Linked DNA regions of Homo sapiens: region 2 is linked to region 1. Evidence: promoter capture Hi-C in 16 types of primary human blood cells and fetal thymus (Javierre and others, 2016). All regions are on one chromosome and are shown on one strand. Each heading gives the region's core, a stretch centred on a gene start or on the middle of the fragment in contact. The rest is flanking DNA. Distances are from core to core; before and after follow the strand shown.

Region 1 (4,634 bases), core at 1,062-3,561:
TGAGTGGATGCCAGAACTGTAGGTTATAAGGCAGTCACTTTTTCTCTCTACTCCCACCCACACCTGCCTCCCTCTTACCCCTGCTCCCCCACACTGCAGGAGGATTTGTCTCTAAGAGGTGCTGCCCCAAAGCTCCCCAAGCATCAATACTCCTAGGGCTCAGGACAAGTGGCTCCCCTGGCCAGGAGAGCCACAGCCATGATACAGGGCTCTTATGGAGCCCTGGAGTTGTTGGGCAAGGATGCTGTCATTTTTTGAACCAAAAGACAAACAGGTTAAAAGGAAAAAAAGTAATCTGAATTTCCCAAGTGCCTACGCTGCATATTCCCCTTGTTAGATCCCATTTTCATGTTACTTTGTAGCCTTGGCCAGAGGCTCAAAAAGGACACAACCAGTTTGGGGAAGGGGTGGCTAAGGAAGATGGTATAGGTGAAGGCGGCTGTGTGACCACTTTCCCCCACCCTTCCCACCCTCTAGACAACTCTCTCCCTTACCTGTTTTTGCTATGGCTGTAAAGGTATTTTTCCTCTGCCCCACTCCCTGCCATACCTTTATCCTGGGATCCTATTTTGGGCCTGGGGTGGGTATACCTGGGGCTGGTCTTAGGAGGGTGCTAGGCTGCAGACTGCCTTGTACTCCCTGGACACCCTCAAATGGGGTTTTCTGTGTTATTTCATAAAATTCTTTGAAGTCCAATAAAGCATGTAGGAGATTTTAACCACTGCTGGCTTTGACTCTCATTGTGTTCTCTGTGCTGTGGCATGATGGGATAAAGAGACAATCTTTCCTTTGCCCAGGGAAAATGAAACTTGAATGCACATGCCCAGAAGCTCTGTGGGCAGGGTTACCAGATAAATGCAGGATGACCAGTTAAATGTGAATTTCAGATAAACAGTTTTTAAAGTATAATTTTCTCTCATGCAGTATCTGGGACACATTTTTATTTGCTAAATTGGGAAACCCTATGTCTGGGTAAACTTGACCCTATCTATCCTATAACTTCACTTACGACTTTTAAAAAACATATCTATTTAATTTTTCTTTCTTTTTTTTTGTTTTTTTTGAGACGGCGTCTCACTCTCTTGCCTAGGCTAGGGTGCAATGGCGCGATCTTGGCTCACTGCAACCTCTGCCTCCAGCGTTCAAGCGATTCTTCTGCCTCAGCCTCCTGAGTAGCTGGGATTACAGGCGCGTGCTACCATGCCTGGCTACTTTTTGTATTTTTAGCAGCGGGGGGGTTTCACCACGTTGGTTAGGCTGGTCTCGAACTCCTGACCTCGTGATCTGCCCGCCTTGGCCTCCCATAGTGCTGGGATTACAGGAGTGAAGCACCGCGCTGGCCTACTTTTTCTATTTTTTGTAGAAATGGGGTCTCACTATGTTGCCCAGGCTTATCTCAACACCTGGCCTCACATGATGCTCCCGCCTTAGCCTCCCAAAATGCTGCAATTACAGGCTCACTTACGACTTTCCATGATTTTTGAAATTACTTCACAGGGAGCCTGGGCAGCTTCTGGAGGGCAGTGAGAAACCAACGAAAAGGCTTTAGGGAAAAGATGCCACAGATGAAATTTCATAAAGATCGCTTTGGGTAGCCCAAATCAGAAGCTTCTACACCAGCCTTACATATTACGGTTCTCATCTATTCTTATTCTCCACTCTAAGTCACCAAGTCCATCCTACCTCCACAAGGCAAATACCCTGTCTCTGCCACCATCCACTGAAGAACCCTAAAAGCAAATGGGTACTGACCCTGCCCTGCTTAAAATTCTCTCAGGGCTCTGATTTGCGTCAGGATAAAATCCAAACGCCATCGGCCTTGCGCGGTTTTCTTCCAGTTCCAGAGTGTCAGTCCTCTGGCCGATCTAAAAGCCCTGGGGCTCCAAGCTGCCCACGGCTGTGGAGCCTGGGCTGGAGCCCACAGCGGACGGCAGTGTTAGTATTATTATAATAAATGTCAGAGCAAGAAAAACGTTCCCGCCGGTTAGGTTTTGTTATTTCAAAAATAAATTAACCGCCTTTCCTCCGGCGGAGACGCGCAGGTGAGAGGGCGGCGCCTGACCCAGCGGGCTCTAGGTGCTACGCCAGGGCCCCGAGGGTCCCGAACTCGGCTTGCCCACACAAAACATGGTAGCAGGAGAGCAGCATTTCCGCCGGGCATGTCCATATCCAATGGGGCCCATGGGAGAGGCGTAGTCTTCTGGGTCTTGCCCAGACTCAACATGGCGGCTACACGTCGCCTGTCAGTCTGTGAAGCCTACCCCGGGCGTGGGCCGCAGCGTCGAGTAACGTCATTCGAACCCCGTCGCGCCCCTTTGTGCGTCACGGGTGGCGGGCGCGGGAAGGGGATTTGGATTGTTGCGCCTCTGCTCTGAAGAAAGTGCTGTCTGGCTCCAACTCCAGTTCTTTCCCCTGAGCAGCGCCTGGAACCTAACCCTTCCCACTCTGTCACCTTCTCGATCCCGCCGGCGCTTTAGAGCCGCAGTCCAGTCTTGGATCCTTCAGAGCCTCAGCCACTAGCTGCGATGCATGTGATCAAGCGAGGTGAGGGGGGGACGAGGTGGGCGAGAAGGAAGGTGAGGGGATGCGGGCTGCCGCCGCCGGAGCTGATGCCCAGACCGCCCGCCCGCCTTCGCTGCTTCCCGCCTTTCCCGCATTTCCCGCCGCGGCCTTCCGCCCTGTCAGCCCGCTCGGCCTTCTGTCTTCAGTCAGCCTGCCCCGAACCTCCTTCGGGCCTTCAGGCTGCGCCCCCTCGGCTTTGTCATCCTGCCGCCTTTCAAAAGGATAACACTTACCCCGTATCGAGTAGTGACTGCGTACGCCGAGCACTTGCCAGGCACTATTTTATTCCTCCCTGCAAGCCTCTGAGAGATGATTAGCTTATTACAGATGAGGAAACTGACGCTCAGAGCGAGGTGTCGCCGACTGACCCAAAGTCACCCATAGGTGACAATACGGTTTGATTTGAAAACCGTGGGGTTGGTGAGCTGTCTTAGGCACAGGGTCGGGGGGCAGCTAGGAAAGAAGGAGGGGGCCTCTCTACCCTCCGTAGGCACTTGTCAGTTTACTGATCTCTTTTGTGGGGTGAGGATAGGAGTGTGGCGTGGAAAAAACAGATCCCAGACAGACAGCACCCTCGAGTTCCTTTCCCTTCATGGGAAGAGATGCTGAATCAGAGAAGGGTGGCTGAGACATCTTCTGACAAGATGGGGACTGGGAAGAGTCAGGAACTCGTATTCTTTCTCAACAGTTCTTTTTCATTAGACTTGCCAAGTGCCCGCTTTGTGCCCAGCCCTTTGCTTGGCTTTGTGAGATTGTAGGAGGAGACAGTCCCTGCCTTGGGAACAGGCTTCATCGGGTTGGAAAAACAAGAGCAACATACTTTTAACAACCGCATGAGATACGTATGAACAAGTTTTGAGTTGAACCTACTTGCCTTTGTTAAAGCAATACAATGATTTCAAAATTGTAGGCACTTAGTAAATACTGGTTAATCGACTGGTTGTTTCTATTTTGTCCTCTAGGCTGTGAACATTTCAAAGATGGAGACTTGTTTGAGACAGAGTCTTGCTCTGTCACCCAGGATGGAATGCAGTGGTGTAATCATAGCTTACTGTAACCTTGAAGTCCTGGGCTCAAGCGATGCTCTTGCCTCAGCCTCTCAAGTAGCTGGGACTATAGGCATGCACCACCATGAGTGGCTAATTTTTAAAAATTTCTGGTAGTAAAGGAGTCTTGCTGTGTTTCCCAGTCTGGCCTTGAATTCCTGGCCTCAAACCATCCTCCCTTCCTTGGCTTCCCAAAGTGCTGGGAATACAAGCAAGATGGAGACTTTTCTGTTCACGTTTAGCACAGGACCTGACATGAACAGATTCTTAAAGAATGAATGAAAATAGTTGTATCAAAATGTAGGACACGATGAATGCTGTGAATAAGCAGGTAGTTGATTTGGTTTAACTACAGCCAATGTCCAGATTGGTTTAACTACAGACAAGAGTTGGAAAGGTGGACAGTAGTGGCCTTTCTTGTTTTTGGTATCTTGAGAACATCATTCTGTGAATTTTCCTAGCTCACATTTTAGCTGACCAAAGAGCAAAATAACATAGTGCACTTTTATTGATCCATTCATAAGAGTGAGAGCTGAGCATCTATTTTTGTATTTTTATTTTTTTACATTATTATTTATTTGTATTTTTTTAGAGAAGGAGTCTCGCTATGTTGCCCAGGCTTGTCTTGAACTCCTGGGCTCAAGCATTCTTCCCACTTCAGCCTCCCAAAGTGCTTGGATTACAGTGCTGGGAGCCACCGCACCTGGCTTGAGCATCTATTTTTTAAATCTTTAGATATGGGAGAGATGTTTAGGATGGTCTATGATAAGTCAGTAACAAAGATGAATTGAAAATGTATGGACTTAGATGACCAGAATGGGTAAAATTCAACCCTGTGTTGAATTTTGAACTTTTAGAGTCTACTTCTAAATACTTTCGTTTAAAAAGTGCTACCTTGGCCTGGCGTGGCAGGGCATGGTGGCTCACGCCTGTAATCCCAGCACTTTGGGAGGCTGAGGTGGGTGGATCATTTGAGGTGTGGAGTTTGAGACCAGCTGGGCCAACATGGTGGAACCCCGTCTCTAC
Region 2 (4,462 bases), core at 567-3,066, 1.1 Mb before region 1:
AGTAAACAGATGCAAATCACTGAAAGCTACTTTTCGGTAACTGAGTAAACAAGTACTATTTTAATTATTATACTTAAAACCTTTGCACATAAAAGTGCACAGTCATTCTTTCTACCACAAATTAAACAGAAATTATCTCATCTTGTTTTTGAACAGGCTTTTCCAGATAATGCACAGCGCATTTTTAAAAGTCCCAAGGACATGAAATGAACATACATTTCGTTTTTAACAGTTAACAGGGGATACTTGTAAGAAACTTAAGGTTACACAGGAAGTGGTCAAAATCAAAAAGTAAAGATCACAAAGTGATCTTTCGTTGTTTTCATACTATAAAAACACAATGCCTCTGTTACTAAATGCAAAATGTAAAGCTCTGGCAAACAAAGTAAAGCAACCCTGTTCTCTCTTAAGAGGGCAGGGTGGAAAACCAATGACTGCCAGATGAAAACTAATTTATATCACCACAAACTATTTCTTAAAAATTTCATTAGCAGCCAAATACAAAATTATTTACTATCTACCTACTGATAAGGGTTTTCCATTACTATATGCTCAAAGACAAACCTTACAACTATAGTTTCGGGAGGCATAAATTTGCTTACCTCAGGAGGTCCCACAAAAATTCAGCTGAGGCCAGGTAACAGCAGTTTCCTGCAGAGATCAGCTACTTCCTATCACCATAGTGGTCGAAGAATCAAACGAAGTAATATCAGATTTCTACTCTGGAAGCCTAAAACACTTTTCCCTTTAAGCAAAAAAGCAAGCATTCCTTAGCTAGCAATCTCAGGCCAAACTCCCAACAAGCTCATCTCTGCTGTCTTATTCAAATATAAACCATCATGGTTTCAAGCAGTAACAGCACTCGCCTATTTCACACAGCTGACGCCTCTTAGGCCGTCAGGAATTTAAATCACCTTCTTGCCCACAAAGTATTTTTCTTCCAAAACAAACTGAAAAATATAGGCTCTTTGGCAACATTTTTGGAAGTACAACATAAACTTATCACAATAATTTTTAAACTGCAGACAACTAAAGGGAAGGAAGAAAAGCACTACTATATATACATACATATTTGAGGTCACCTCCTCCTGATGCTAGAGACTATCAACTGCTCAAAAGAAGGAAAACAAAATAAAGATTTCAGTCCCCACACTTAGCTGCGAATAGCTAACAAAGGGAATTAACATGCGGTCAATAACAAGAGGCTACTAAAAACTCTGACAGGTTAGGAAGTTTTCATTTCAGTTTCAAATTCAAATTCATACTGTAAAGTGGTGATGAACACATCCCATCCGCAGGTACTTAACCTCCATACAAATAAGAACTACCTCTCATATGGGCAAAAAGATCAAAATTCTACAGAAGAATCTGATGGCTAAATGGCTAATTTGCAAAACACAATGCCCTGTACATTTTGAGGACATCCTAAAACATGTGTAAACTTTTCAGAATTCAGTTTACCAAAGTTATCAAACTTAAAAATGATTAAAATTTATTTGCTACTGCAAAGAATTCAACCAATTTCTCCAATGACTACTCCATATTCATTTTGAAAAACAGTACCGGATTTAAAGCTTACACAACAAAATTCACAAAAGTGTTATATGTGCCTATATGACATATAGGCACAAATAACTGCAGACATTCTGAAGCTAACACTGCTCAACCAGGAAAAAAAAAAGACTGCAATTGGATATGTAATAACAGCTATTTAAGACGGCAGTAACGTGTTAAAATGGTTCATAAAAATCACATCATAAGGCCCTGAAATTCTAGTAAAAATATCTCTAAGTAAACTTGTGAACTACTACTAAATAACTAATTTTCTCTCTCTCTGTAGTCACTCATTTTATCTTTGGATTACTTTCCCATTCTATCACCACGTTGCTTTCTCTGAACTTCATTTTACATTTGCATATTATTTATTCCATTAGCAATTGCTCATCCCAGTCTGAATCTCAAAATTCTACTATAGGAGGCATTTGGCATTCTGTGGAATAAGAGAATTTTGAGATGGAAATGATCAACCAGCTCAAAACCTCGTAAGCTAGAGTTCAGTTAAGCTTAGCACAATGATGAAAACAATTTCTCATTAAAACTTCTTTCATTCCCTCTACAGAAGCAGTAACCCTGGGTACAGTTAAAACTGCCTGGGTCTTTAAGCTTTGTCACCTCGGACAAGTCATTATACCTAACCTCCCAGGGCCTCAGCTTCCAGAGTAGTTAAATGGAAAAACAATAGCATCTATCTCAGGTTATTAGATTATGAAATGAGTTAACACACGCAAACAGGCTGAAAGAGTCCCTGGTGCGCAGTGCAGGTATTAGTCATTTAGAGGTATAGTTACTATTACAGGAAGGTAGTAACTTAGAAAGACTTACCTTTAAGGTCCAACAACCTAATCTACATATTTGTATATTTCTAAGGTAAGAGAATTTTTAAAAGTCTATTTTCACCCCGTAAACCTAATGCAGGAGGATAAGGCACGGGTTACTACAGGAAAAAGTAATGCAGACTGGGGGATGCGAACCAAAGCACAGACGAATGTGCCCCGACGATTCCTCCGAGAACATAATGAAATGGCGGACCTTCCTGCCAGAGGAGCGCACAGTCACCCAGGCAGGTGATGTGACACACACGTTAGGGTCTAAAGGTCCCAAGGCTGGAGTCCCCTTTACTGGACCCTAAACATGTCTGCCTCCTGCCCCGCAATCAGACTTAGAGAACTGTGGACGGTGGAAAGTCTTATCATGACCAGGCCATCCTTCGCTGGGGTGAACGGAAAGCATTCAGAAGGGGAAAATTGAAAACAACAAAGACTCTGGTCAGGTCAAAAAATACAAATGTGACCTCTTCCACCATCTCTGAACTGAAAGAAAAGCATGGCACTTTCCCATCCATAACATGTACAATTTTTTTTTTTGGAGATTTTGCTTTTCCCTTGTGAAAGACGGTTTTAAATAGTAAACAGACTTGCTGCCCACCTTGGCTGGGAAACCAAGTCCCGTGAGTAACTAGTCTAAGGCCACTCAGGCCAGTCCTCGGGGAGCGCACGCCGCCCAGCTCGCTCCCACCGCACAGCTCCCAACAGCTAAGAAGCAACGCCAAGGACTTTCTTCCCCGTCAGACATGCCCTCGGCCACACCAAACTGACATCAAAACCCCAGTTAGCCCAGCCTGACCCCACAGAGGCTCACGATGACAACCGCCCTACGGAAAAACTCAAATTCCTAAACATCTAATAAAGAAGTCCTGGACGTCTCCACCTTAAAAACGGGAAGCCTGAACGCTCCGGCGCGCCCGGCCGTGTAACCGCCACAGCCCCCGCACGCGGGGCGGGCTGGGCTAGCGGGAGATTTGAGCGGCCGCCGCCTCTCGCCGTCTTCGCCTCCTCCAAGGGGCCGCCGCCCAGGAGGCCGCCCGCGGCGCAGAACAAAGCGCCTTGACCTTCAGTGAGGCGGGCAGCCGGGCGAGGCGCGCCGGGAGTTGGGAGGGGCCTCCCGCCAGCGCCCCAGGCCCGGGCTCCAGGCCCCAAGCCCCAGGCCCCGCCGCGGCCGCCGCTGCCTGCCCCGACCAGAACGCGGCCCCGCCCCTGCCCCACCGCCCCGAGGCTTCCAGAGATGGCCGCCGCCGCGCCCGCGCCGGACCCGCGGCCCCACCCGCCCGTCCGGGCCCGGCCGCCCTCCCCAGCGCGCCGTTACCGGCCCAGCACCCGTGTCTCCGCACCTCACGCCTCCTGCGGCAGTGGCGGCGACCCTAGCTTCGCTCGCTTTGGGGCTGCGCCGCCGTGGCCTCCAACAACGCCGGCTCCCATTGGCCGAGGCTCCTAGCTCCTCTCTCCGCGAGCAAGACAGGCTGCGATTCGCCGAGCGCGGCGCAAGTCAACTGCGCTTCGCGCCGCAGTCAGCAACCAATCACAAGCCTCCGAAGAAACGCCGCGCCATATGCAAATATTCCTCCGCGCGGCGCGCGCCCTGCGTTCCTCCGCCTCTTTAAATGGGGCGGGGCAAGGTGGAGACCGCGTGTGTGGTTCCGGGGGGTCCCGGGTCCCCGCTCCCGGGACCTTCCCCGGGTGGCACCACATCCTCGCGGGACACTGGGCACCACCCCTCTCCGTGGGCCCCGGCCCCAGCCGTCTTTATCTCCTGCGCCCTCCCAGTTCCCTAGTTCAATCCCGTCCGCGGCGGGTCGGTGCCTCCAGCACTCCGTGCGCCCGCTGATGTGAGAACCCCACCTCCCATGTCGTCCCCTCGCGCTACTCCTTGAGAACATCGCGGAGGGCCCCTCCGCCTGGGAGCCGTTTTCAACCAGCCCCGTTAGTGGTTGGGACGTAAGCCTAACCCCCGCTCATCCCCCAGGTCCCAGGTTGGAGAACACTTCCTCTGCGAAGAGGTCGGGGCTGGGTCACCTCCGCGGACAGGACGGGACTAGCCACTGCCTGCATCTCTTCCCCCACGCCCT

What was found. Contacts are between HindIII fragments. The CHiCAGO score rates a contact against its expected background, and 5 or more counts as called.
Region 2: a fragment that was not itself captured here is called in contact with the fragment with the promoter of RRM1 in region 1 in 1 of 17 cell types (total B cells); the score reaches 5.9 in total B cells.

Annotation. Positions count from the first base shown.
Region 1 is chr11:4,092,488-4,097,121 of GRCh38, forward strand. It overlaps RRM1 (ribonucleotide reductase catalytic subunit M1), which reads left to right and starts at 2,312. Exons shown (of 19, transcript NM_001033.5): 1 at 2,312-2,544. The coding sequence starts at 2,526. STIM1 (stromal interaction molecule 1) reads left to right here. Exons shown (of 13, transcript NM_001382567.1): 13 at 1-721. RefSeq lists enhancers at 1,942-2,011, 2,072-2,541. The HindIII fragment of the contact is 7,950 bases long and covers 1,607-4,634 here.
Region 2 is chr11:2,988,527-2,992,988 of GRCh38, forward strand. It overlaps NAP1L4 (nucleosome assembly protein 1 like 4), which reads right to left and starts at 3,803. Exons shown (of 16, transcript NM_005969.4): 1 at 3,728-3,803. RefSeq lists enhancers at 2,372-3,228, 3,773-4,067. The HindIII fragment of the contact is 489 bases long and covers 1,573-2,061 here.